2 separate regions of the Homo sapiens genome follow, and region 2 is linked to region 1. Evidence: promoter capture Hi-C in human tissues and cell types (Jung and others, 2019). All regions are on one chromosome and are shown on one strand. The core of a region is centred on a gene start or on the middle of the fragment in contact, and the rest is flanking DNA. Distances in the headings are between cores, read along the strand shown.

Region 1 (5,564 bases), core at 1,676-4,175:
GAGAGGGGATTCCTGTAATCAGGAGGCCAAGGCAGGTGGATCACCTGAGGTCAAGAGTTCAAGACCAGCCTGGCCAACATGGTGAAACTCTCTCTACTAAAAATACAAAAATTAGCCAGCCATGGTGGTAGGTGCCTGTAATCCCAGCTACTCAGGAGGCTGAGGCAGGAGAATCACTTAAACCCGGGAGGTGGAGGTTGCAGTGAGCCAAGACTGCACCACTGCACTCCAGCCTGGGCGACAGCGGGAGACCCTGTCTCAAAACAAAACAAATCCATGAGTTCACACCGATACAAATATATGACTCTGTAAGCAAAAAATAGGGGAACAGACAAATTTCCCACAGAGAACTCCAAATAATTTGCATTATATACTCTGCCTTTAAGCATGGGGCATAATTCCACACTCCTTAAATGTGTGCTGTACATAATGACTTTCTCCAAAAGTACAGTGCGGAAAGTGCAGGAGGAAAAGTAACTCTACACTGGAAAAGCCTGACTACTACCTCAAGCCAGGTGGCTCAAGCTAACAGATGTCAACAATGATAACTCATATCGATAGTATGTACCCTTGATATGATGTGATGAGAATAGCACTTTACTTCTGTGGTTGGATTAGTCCATTTTCATACCACTTTGAAGAAATACCCGAGACTGGGTAATTAATAAAGAAAAAGAGGTTTAACGGACTCACGGTTCCACATGGGTGGGTAGGCCTCACAATCACGGCAAAAGGCAAAGGGGAGGCAAGGGCATGTCTTATGTGACAGCAGGCAAGAGAGTGTGTGCAGGGGAACTGCCCTTTATAAAACCATCAGATCTCCTGAGACTTATTCACTATCAGGAGAATAGCATGGGAAAGACCCACCCCCATGATTCAATTGTCTCCCACCAGGACCCTCCCACAACATGGGGGGATTATGGGAGCTACAATTCAAGATGAGATTTGGGTGGGGACACAGCCGAACCCTATCAGTGGTCCTCCTCCCCAAAAACCCATTACCCTGATCTTACTCATGTCAAAAACAGGCAAATCCTAATTAAAGGTCCTTCTGCAAAATATCTGACCAGTCAGTACTATCTTCAAAACCCTCAAGTTCATCTAAAACAAGGGAAGTCTGAGAAACGATCACAGAGATGATGAGCCTAAAGAGATATGATGACTAAATGTAATAGGGTGCCCTGGATAATACCAGGACAGAAAAAGGACATTAGGGAAAAACTAAGGAAATGTGAATAAAGTACAGATTAGAGTTAATAATAATGTATCAATATTGGTTCAGTAATTGTGACATTTCAGATATTAGTAATAGGGGAAACGTGGGCTATATGGGCACTCACTGAAGTATCTTTGCGATAACTTTGTAAATCTAAAATTATTCTAAAACAAAAAGGTTATTGGGGAAAAAAAGAATGGGTCAACATTTCAAAACAAATAAATAAAAAACCACTGAGACAAGTATAGCTCTCAAGACTTAGCAAATACTAAATCTTCTCTTAAGACTGAAAAACTCAGATTTCACGACTGCCACAGGCCTTCATCTCCCAATGTTGTGTACTGTGCTGGTAGGCCATTCTTGGCTTCTAATGAAGTAACTTTAAATTCTATTGTGAAAATTCAGCTGAAAACAGACTGGGGAATAGAAACCAGTGTCAGAAGTTACTGTTTTAGGCCAGGCACAGTGGCTCTTGCCAGTAATCCCAAACACTTTGGGAGGTCCAGGAGGAAGGATATCTTGCCTCCAGGAGTTCAAGACCAGGCAGGAAAACATAGTGAGACTCCATCTCTATTTCAACTTTTTTTTAATTAAAAAGAAAAAAAAGCCGGGTGTGGTGGCTCCCGCCTATAATCCCAACACTCTGGGAGGCCGAGGCGGGTGGATCACCTGAGGTCGGGAGTTTGAGACCAGCCTGGCCAACATGGTGAAACCCTGTCTTTACTAAAGATACAAAAATTAGCCGGGCGTGGTGGCACACGTCTGTAATCCCAGCTATTCGGAAAGCTGAGGCAGGAGAATCGCTTGAACCCAAGAAGCGGAGGTTGCAGTGAGCCAAGATCCCGCCACTGCCCTTCAGCGTGGACGAGAGAGAGACTCCGTCTCTAAATAAATAAATAGAATGGCTTTAAAAAAAAAAAAAGGAAAGAAAAAGAAGTTACCGCTTTATGGCAATGGGTTGTACAGCCTGGCCCGTCCCATTAAAACAAATTCCTAAGAACCACGCAAAACTAGATTAGAATGCAAAGCTAAGCCACCTCTCTGGGCAAAGTCACACTGGTAGCCGGTGGGCTGAAACTGGTGTGCAGATGCCCTGCAAAATATAATTATTAATCTAAATGTGTTGTCACCATTTTAAAAATGTTTCTCATATTCATTTCTCGCTTCTCTTAGAATTCGTACAACAAACATGGACTGTGCACCTACTAAGGGCTTTACATTCACCACCTCGGTTTACCCCGCAGTACAAGCGTGTATGTCCATTTTAGAAGACGAAACTGAGGGCCAGAGAGGAACCGTGACTTGCCCACGGTAAGAGAGCCATACGGATTCGAACCCTGGCCAGATTCACTCTGGAGCTCAGGGTTCTCCTACTGCTCCACCCGTGGGAGGAAAGGCCCGGACCAGGCCATGAGGAGCCCTGGGTTCTGGCCCAGCCTCCGCACGAAAGCGCAGGGCTGCCCCAGGCGAGGCCCTCCGCCTCCCGGGGGGCTCAAATTCCCCTCCGGAAGTAACTTTCGAACAACCGCCGAGGGAACGTATTCAGGCCCTGAGCGGAGCGACAGCCGGGCCCACCAAGCGGCGCCGCTGGAGACAGGCCGGCCGGGAAAGCCAGGCCACCGCACCGAGGACGGCTCTCTCTCGGTTCCCACCCCACCGCAAAGCTGCGGCACTCACCTCCCGCGCCGCCGCGCCGCTCCCCCGGAAGTAGTTCCCTGCGACCCTGAGTCCCGGAAGTGACGCGCACTGAGCAACCAACCGGCTCTGTTCCGCCCGCGTTGCCAGGTTTCTGGGTGAGGCACCGCTGGGTTTTGTCGACTTTTGTCCCTGTTCTGTGGGTTCGAGCTGGACAAAGAGGTTTGGGGAAATGAAATCTAGAGCTTGTCAATTCTTTAAGCTCCTATATCACTCAGCTCGTTTCAGCAACATTTTTGTTTAATTAAAAAGAAAACAAAAGAAATTACTTCTCGGGGCTGGGCACGGTGGCTCACGCCTGTAATCCCAGCACTTTGGGAGGCCGAGGCGGACGGATCACTTGAGGTCAGGAGTTCGAGACCAGCCTGGTCAACATGGTGAAACCCCGTCTCTACCAAAAATACAAAAATTAGCCGGGCGTGGTGGCGGGCGCCTGTAATCCCAGCTGCTTGGGAGGCTGAGGCAAGAGAATCTCTTGAATCCCGGGAGGCAGAAGTTGCAGTGAGCCGAGATCGCGCCACTGCACTCCAGCCTGGGCGACAGAATGAGACTCTTCCTCAAAAAAAAAAAAAAAAAAAAAAAAAAGTTACTTATTCATCGCAATGGGCTGTATAGCTTGGCCCGTCTCATTGTAACAAATTCGTAAGAACTGCGCGAAACTAGATTAGAATTTTGTCCTATGCAAAGCTAAGCCATCTCCCAGAGCAGAGCACAGTCACAACTGGTAGCTGGTGAGCTAAAACGGGTGTGTAGCTGTCCTGCAAAATGTTCATCTGGATGTGTTGTCACTATTTCAAAAGTGTTTCTCACGTTCATTTCCTTAATTTTATGCCAGGTCCTGAGCTAGGAGCCTACAATGCAGAGAGGAGACAAACAGAAACACCTCTTGTAATTCAGACAGAAGCAAATCATTATAATTCATTCAAAAAGCATTCACTGAGCGCGTACTCTATGCTTTGTCCTTGTAACTGAGGACACAGTGCTAAAGCAGACACATACAGTCTCTGCCCTTGTGGTGCTTACAGTCCGTTGGAGGGAGACAGACTAATTAAATGAATGTGTAATCATATAACAGGATAAGTTTTTTGAAGGCAAAGAACAGTGTTCCATGATTAAGAAGGGGTGGGGGGCAAGTAGTAGGAGAAAAAGAAACCTAGATGAGAGTGTGATAACCAGCCTCCACCATAAACCCTGACGATTCTTGGCTCCTGATATCCATACCCCTCTGTAGTCACCTCCCACCAAGAATAAGACTGACCTGTATAACCCATAGGATATTGCGGAAATCTTGGAGCACGAGTTCCAAGATAAAGTCATAAAAGACATTGCAACTTCCTCTTTCCTCTGTCTTGATTGCTCATGGGGAATCCATGTTGTGAAGACACTCAAGCAGTCCTATGGAGAGGCTCGCATGGGGAGTAACTGAGCTGCCTGCCAACAACCAGCTCCAACTTGCCAGCCATGTGTATGAGCCAAGTGGCTCCAGCAGTCCTAGTCAAGCTTTCAAATGACTGTGGCCTGGCCAAAATCTTCAGTGTAAACTCAAGAGCAACCTTGAGCCAGAAATACCTTGCAATGCCACTTGAATGCCTGCCTCACAGAAATTGTGAAATACTAAATGTTATTGTTTTAAGCTCCTAAGTTTTAGGATAATTGGTTATGCAGCCTAGATAACATACATAGAGGATCAAGGAACAGAGGTTAGATACCAGAGACTCCAAAAAAAAAAAAGAGAGAGAGAGAGACCTATCTTGCCCTAAAGGAATTCAGTCTCTTAGAAGACAAATAATACACTCAACATTCACTAATCCCATACTATGTGAGGTGGCATGGGGGACCCAAAATGCATAATTTATTCATTTAAAAAATATTTATGGAGTTTCTACTCTGGATCATGCACTATGAAACTGGGAAGACAATGGTGAGTAGGTGGGATCCTACCCTGACTGTGCTTATAGACTAGGGGTCAATGTCTGTCACCCCCACTAATCAATCACACAGATAAATGTACACTTAAAAACCATGAGATGTGTTGGGAAGGAAGAAGGGGGAGCCATGAGAGAAGCAATAACATGGGAGATACAATCAAAAGAGAGGTGATGAGGGAAGACGTCCATGAGATCACATTTCTGGTAAGAAATGAAGAGTGGTGGCTCACGTCTATAATCCCAGCACTTTGGGAAGCTAAGGTGGACAGATTGCTTGAGCCCAGGAGTTTGAGATCAGCCTGGGCAACATGGCGAAACCCCGTCTCTACAAAAAATACCCAAAAAATTAGCCAGGCATGGTGGTGTGCACCTGTAGTCTCAGCTACTTGAGAGGCTGAGGCAGGACAATTGCTTGAACCTAGGAGGCAGAGGTTGCAGTGAGCCGAGGTCGCACCACTGCATTCCAGCCTGGGCAACAAAGCAATACTCCATCTCAAAAAAAGAAATGAAGAATGAGGAGGACTTTGCCAGGCAAAGAGAAGGAGGAAAAAGCACGATGGGTGGTGGAAAGGCTGGGTAGTGAGAAACGGCTTGGAGCCTAAGAATAGCTGAGGGGGTGACACTGAGGCCTGCAGGGTGCAGATGTTTAGGACAGGACTTACTACTTGCCCTGGAGAGACACACTGCAGGGTGTGAGTGAGGAGAGTGTTTTCTGGGTTGAATTG
Region 2 (5,564 bases), core at 1,799-4,298, 1.1 Mb before region 1:
GGTGGCATAATTGGACATCCACAGGCCAAAAAATAAACCTTCACCCAAACTGTACACTGTATGCAAAAATTAACTCAAAATGAATCATAGATCTAAATATAAAATGCAAAACTATAAAACTTTTAGAAGAAAACACAAAAGAAAACCTAGGTCTTGGTAAAGATTTCTTAGATATTACACCAAAAGCACAAGCCATGAAAGAAAAATAATAAGTTGGACTTCATCAAAATTAAAAACTTGTAATCTGTGAACAGCCTTGTTAAGAGAATGAAATGGCAGGCCACAAACTGGGAGAAAACGTGCCAATTAATGTATCTGACAAAAGACTTGTATCTAGAATATATATATATGTATATGTACACATACACACATAACCTCTTTAGACTCAACCTTAAGATAATAAATAATCCAATGAGAAAATCTGTAAAAGACTTGATTAGGTAACTCACCAAAGATGCTCAACATCATTAGCTCTTAGGATAATGTAGATTAAAGCCACAATGAGATACCATTATTCTCCTATTAGGATGGCTAAAATAAAAAAAAAAATGTAATGCCAAATGCTGGCGAGTACACCTTTTTGTATAGCCTTGACTGTCAGAACCATAGTAATGTTTCACATGCCCAGTAAACAAATAAATCATCAAAACCAACCAGGATATGTGGGAGAAACCCCAAATGGCATATAAGCTATAGCAAATGAACCTGTGTTACAAATGACTGAGATAATCCCACTGAAGGATGTGGGGAATAAAAGAACTAAGCAACTCTGGAAGACAGCATTTTTACTGTATATTGTAAGGTCAAAGATAAAAAGAATTGCATACAAATATTGTGCTCTGTTTAGTCAATATGTGTCTATTTGGATTGAACAAAAAGGAAAGCAGATTATGGATAATTAGAGCCAGGGTTCTCACTGTTGGAAAAAAAGTTAGAAATAAGGAAGGAGCTAGAATGAATCCTGTGTGGTGTTGGATGAGAATCAGAAATATCAGTATGAACCCATGGTTTTGAACAATTATACAGATGCATAAATATAGAAATAAATATGGCTTTATGTGTATGCTTGTTAGTAATTGTCCTATGTAAAGTTTCTAGTTTTGTCCTCTCAGAAGCCCTAGAGGCAATGGCATCCCAGTAGCAGTGAGCACATCTAGACATCTAGCACCCAAATCTTGGTTTCCAAATACCATTTTTCAATAAAAGGAACTAGAGTTCCTTGGAGATTGCAAGTCTTTAGCAGGGGAAGTAAAAGATGAACCTGGCACACATACTGTTGTGCTAGAGTGAGGAAGTGCTCAGAAAATAATGGGGCCTAGTATGGTTAGCCTTTGTGTTCCCATTCAAATCTCATCTTGAATTGTAATCCCCATAATCCCCATGTGTCAAGGGAAAGACCAGGTGGAGGTAATTGAATCATGGGAGCAGTTCCCCCATGCTGTTTTCATGATAGTGAGTGAGTTCTCACAAGATCTGATGGTTTTATAAGGGGCTCTTCCCCCTTTGCGCAGCACTTCTCCTTCCTGCCGCCTTGGGAGGAGGTGCCTTGCTTCCTCCTTGCCTTCTACCATAATTGTAAGTTTCCTGAGGCTTCCCCAGCCATGCCAAACTGTGAGTCAATTAAACCTCTTTCCTTTATAAATTACCCAGTCTTGGGCAGTTCTTTATAGCAGTATGAAAACAGGCAAATACAGGGACATAGCCAAAGGATGTAGGGGCCATCCTGAAGTCATTTCTAACGACTAAAGCTGGGATAATTTGAGTAACAAAATGGATAAAGATTGGATTATAACTCTGTTCTATTTTCTCCCATAACCATTATCATCTCTTAACCTACTATCTAATTAACTTTTGTTCTCATTTATTATTGCCTGTCTCTTCCCATCCTAGAATGTAATGTTTATAAAGGTGGGAATTTTCTGGATCTGTTTTGTTTACTGATAAATCCCAAGCACAATGACAGCACTTGGCATACAGTGCTGGCTCAATAAATATTTGTGGAATGAGTGGATTTTCTCTCTCCACCTCCCAAGAGCACATAGATTGGGGAAACTGAATGTTCTAATGGAAACAAAAAGAATTTATCCAGACCATTGGGCACCAAACATCAGCAGCCACTACCATCTGATTCTCTGCTTCAGCACGTCTGAGACTCGTACAGACAGCAGGGAAAGTCCCAAGGGAGCTGAGTCTGGAACATTCCCTCCAGAAAAGGGCTTGGCAACCTGGGAGCCCATCTCCCAGGGAACATTTCTAAAGGTTTTCCTCTCAGAAGAATAGTTGGAACAGCTGCAGTTATTTTGGAAACTCAGTGAGAAGCTGACTTTTGCATGGCTAACTTAAATCTTTATTTCAGCTAAAAACCCTCCCACTCTTGAGAGGTTGACTTTAGGTGCCCCTTTATGGATATGGGAAGGGAAGCATGGATAAGGGAAAGTAAGTGTATTCGTTTTCTTGGGCTGCCATAAAAAATACCACAAGCTAGACCAGGCACAGTAGCTCATGCCTGTAATCCCAGCACTTTGGGAGGCCGAGGTAGGAGGATAGCTTGAGCTCAGGAGTTCGAGACTAGCCTGGGCAACATAGGAAGATGCTATCTCTACAAAACACCAAAAAATTAGCTGGGTGTGGTGGCACATGCCTGTAGTCCCAGCTACTCAGGAGGCTGAGATTGGAGGATACTTCAATCCAGGAGGTTGAGGTTGCAGTGAGCCGTGATTGCACCACTGCACTCCAGCCTGCTAGATGACAGAGTGAGACCCTTTCTTAACCACCTCCCCGTCCCCACAAACTGGGTTACTTAAAACAACAAAAATGGATTGTCTCCCAGTCCTGAAGGCTAGAAGTCAGAAGTCAAGGTGCCCACAGGCCATGCTCCCTTTGAGACTCTGGGTGGAATCCTTCCTTGCATCTTCCTAGCTTCCAGCAGCCTCATGCATCCCTGGAATGGCAGCTGCATCAGTCCAATCTCTGCCTCCAGCATCACATAGTTGTCTTCACATCACCTCCCCTCTGCGTGTAGCTGCATCTGTGTCCAAATTTTCCCTTTTTATAAGGACACAAGTCATATTGGATTAGAGCCCATCCTGATGATTTCATTTTAATTTGATTACCTCTATCAAGAGCCTATTCCAAATAAGATCACATTTTGAGGTCCTGGAGGTTAAAGCTTCAGCATATCTTTTTTGATTATTTATTTATTGAGATGGAGTCTTGCTCTGTCGCCCAGGCTGGAGTGCAGTGGTGTGATCTCGGCTCACTGCAACCTCCGCCTCCCAGGTTTAAGCGATTCTCGTGCCTCAGCCTCTTGAGTAGCTGGGACTACAGATGCCCGCCACCACGCCTGGCTAATTTTTATATTTTTAGAAGAGACGGGGTTTCACTATGTTGACTAGGCTGGTCTCAAACTTCTGACCTCAAGTGATCCACTTGCCTTGGCCTCCCAAAGTGCTGGGATTACAGGTATGAGCCACCCCACCTGGTCAGCATATCTTTTTTGGGGGTACCACAACTGAATCCATAGTGAGAAGTAACTACAAATATTGGACTGTTAGATTGACAGGGACTATTTCAGTTGAAACCACCGCACTCTCTACTCGTTCTCTGCAAGACCTCAACCACGTCCAGGCTCTTCAGAAATGGGAAGGTGTTAAGGAAACTCACCAAAGTGTTAAAGTGTAAAGGTCACCTCAACCTGCCAGGGCCTCCCTTCCCTTTGGCCCTTGAGCACCCTGCAAAATGGAGACCCTCAAGGTCCTCTCTTACTTCCTGCTGCCCTGGGTTTCCGCCCTCCTGGGTTAACATTCTGTGGCTCATTTACCTTCCAAGTACCTTTCAAAGCCCCAGTGGGCAGCTTAGAACCATCATCAGTGAGAACAGGGTGAGATATCCTTTGCGGGCGGCTCTGGGATCTGAACAGGAGAAATTAAAGTGAAAGGTGGGGACAGCTGAGCATGCACAGAAGCGCAGTGGCAAGATCTGGAGATAATTAACAGCTGGCTATAAATTGAAGGAGCTATATGATAAAAGCCTAGGGCAGCCCATAACTTGGGAAAAGATTGGATCACTAGGTTAAGTGACAAGAGACTTCAAATCAAATCACCAGATACGTATTAAGTGCCTGACTCAGTACTGCATTGAGCCGTGGGTGATACAAAGACATGTAATATCTGTTTCCTGCCCTCAAGGCAATTATAATCTACTTAGGGAGGTTAGACATAAAACTAGGAGAAATTAGATAGCAAAATATTTAAATAGCAGTTGAAAATACCACATGATCGGTTGCCAATTGAATTGTGGAGCTGAGTTCTGAACAAGGAGAGATTATTTGATTATTTATGGTGTTAGATAGGCACGTATTTTCTTGCTGAGGGAAAGGAAGAGTTAACTGAACAGGGCAAACTAGAAAGTCTCTGGGAGGGGAAGCAGGGGAGAACCCTGACGTCCAAGGAATGTGTTACTAATAATAATAGTTTCCATTTGTTAAGCATTTACTGATTAAGCAACTTACAAACCTTAATATACTTACATACGTTTAAGTAATTCAGTAGTCTCATGGGTTGCTATACTTTCTGTACCAATTAAAACCAACACTAGCTCGTGTTTAATGTTTAAATCCCCAAATCTCAGTGACTGACAGGTTTATTTCTGCTTTTGCAAAGCCCACATGCCACAGTTGGGGATGGGAGAAGCTCTGCTCCATACAATCATTCAGGGACCTAGACTGCTGCTGGAGGCTCTGCCATCTTCAACACATTTATCCCAAGTCACCTTGGGTGTCAATATATCGACATCCAGCTGGCTGAGGGGGGACGAGAGAGAGAGAGATTGAGAGAGAGAGAGAGAGAGAGAGAGACAGAGACAGAGACAGAGAGAGAGAAAGATGTAGTGGGGGATCATACAGGTGGTGTTTATGGATTTGTCAGAACTCAGTCACATGGGCCACAATTAATTGCAAGGGGTGCTGGGAAATGTAGTTCAACCATGTGTCCAGGTGGAAAGAGAAATGGTTCGGTGGACAGCCAGCTAGTGAGACTACTGCACATTTGTGACTTTTTTAGATGTGGAAACTTGGGCTCAGAGAGACCCACCAAGGTCACACAGTGAGTAAAGGGAAGTCATATAGGTATAGTTGATAGAGCACGAAATATGTGTGAATGTATTATCTAAAATTACAAACACACCAATAGAGAAACAAAAAATATTATGTTACATAGTATTTTGAGAGAGGAAAGGAAAATGGGGTGACAAGCTAAGTCCTCATGTACTCAGCAAATTTTTAGAAAATTGGTAAATTTAAAAAATGATGTAGGAACGTTATTTGAGATCTTGAGCTAGCCATCAAAGGAACTAAAACCAGAAACATTTCAGGAATTAAATGTGGTACCTCTGAGACCACTGCTTCTTATGATAAGCCCTTTTGCACATTTGATTTTTTAAAATGTGTGCCTTAATTGCTTTGATATACATTTGTGGCAGGTTGAACAATGGGCTCACCAAAGATGTCCATGTCCTAATTCCCTGAACCTATGAGTATGTTACCTCGCGTGGTGAACGGACTTTGC

Evidence for each region. Contacts are between HindIII fragments. The study calls those that stand out against the background at their distance.
Region 2: a contact is called between a fragment that was not itself captured here and the fragment with the promoter of MANBAL in region 1, in 1 of the 25 tissues and cell types used here (dorsolateral prefrontal cortex).

Annotation. Positions count from the first base shown.
Region 1 is chr20:37,287,016-37,292,579 of GRCh38, reverse strand. MANBAL (mannosidase beta like) reads right to left here and starts at 2,925. Exons shown (of 3, transcript NM_001003897.2): 1 at 2,894-2,925. RefSeq lists enhancers at 713-822, 2,051-2,955, 3,028-3,137. The HindIII fragment of the contact is 10,035 bases long and covers 1-5,564 here.
Region 2 is chr20:38,391,904-38,397,467 of GRCh38, reverse strand. No RefSeq gene overlaps it. Among named protein-coding and RNA genes, the nearest start is that of SNORA71B, 31 kb to the left of the region's middle. The HindIII fragment of the contact is 3,869 bases long and covers 1,114-4,982 here.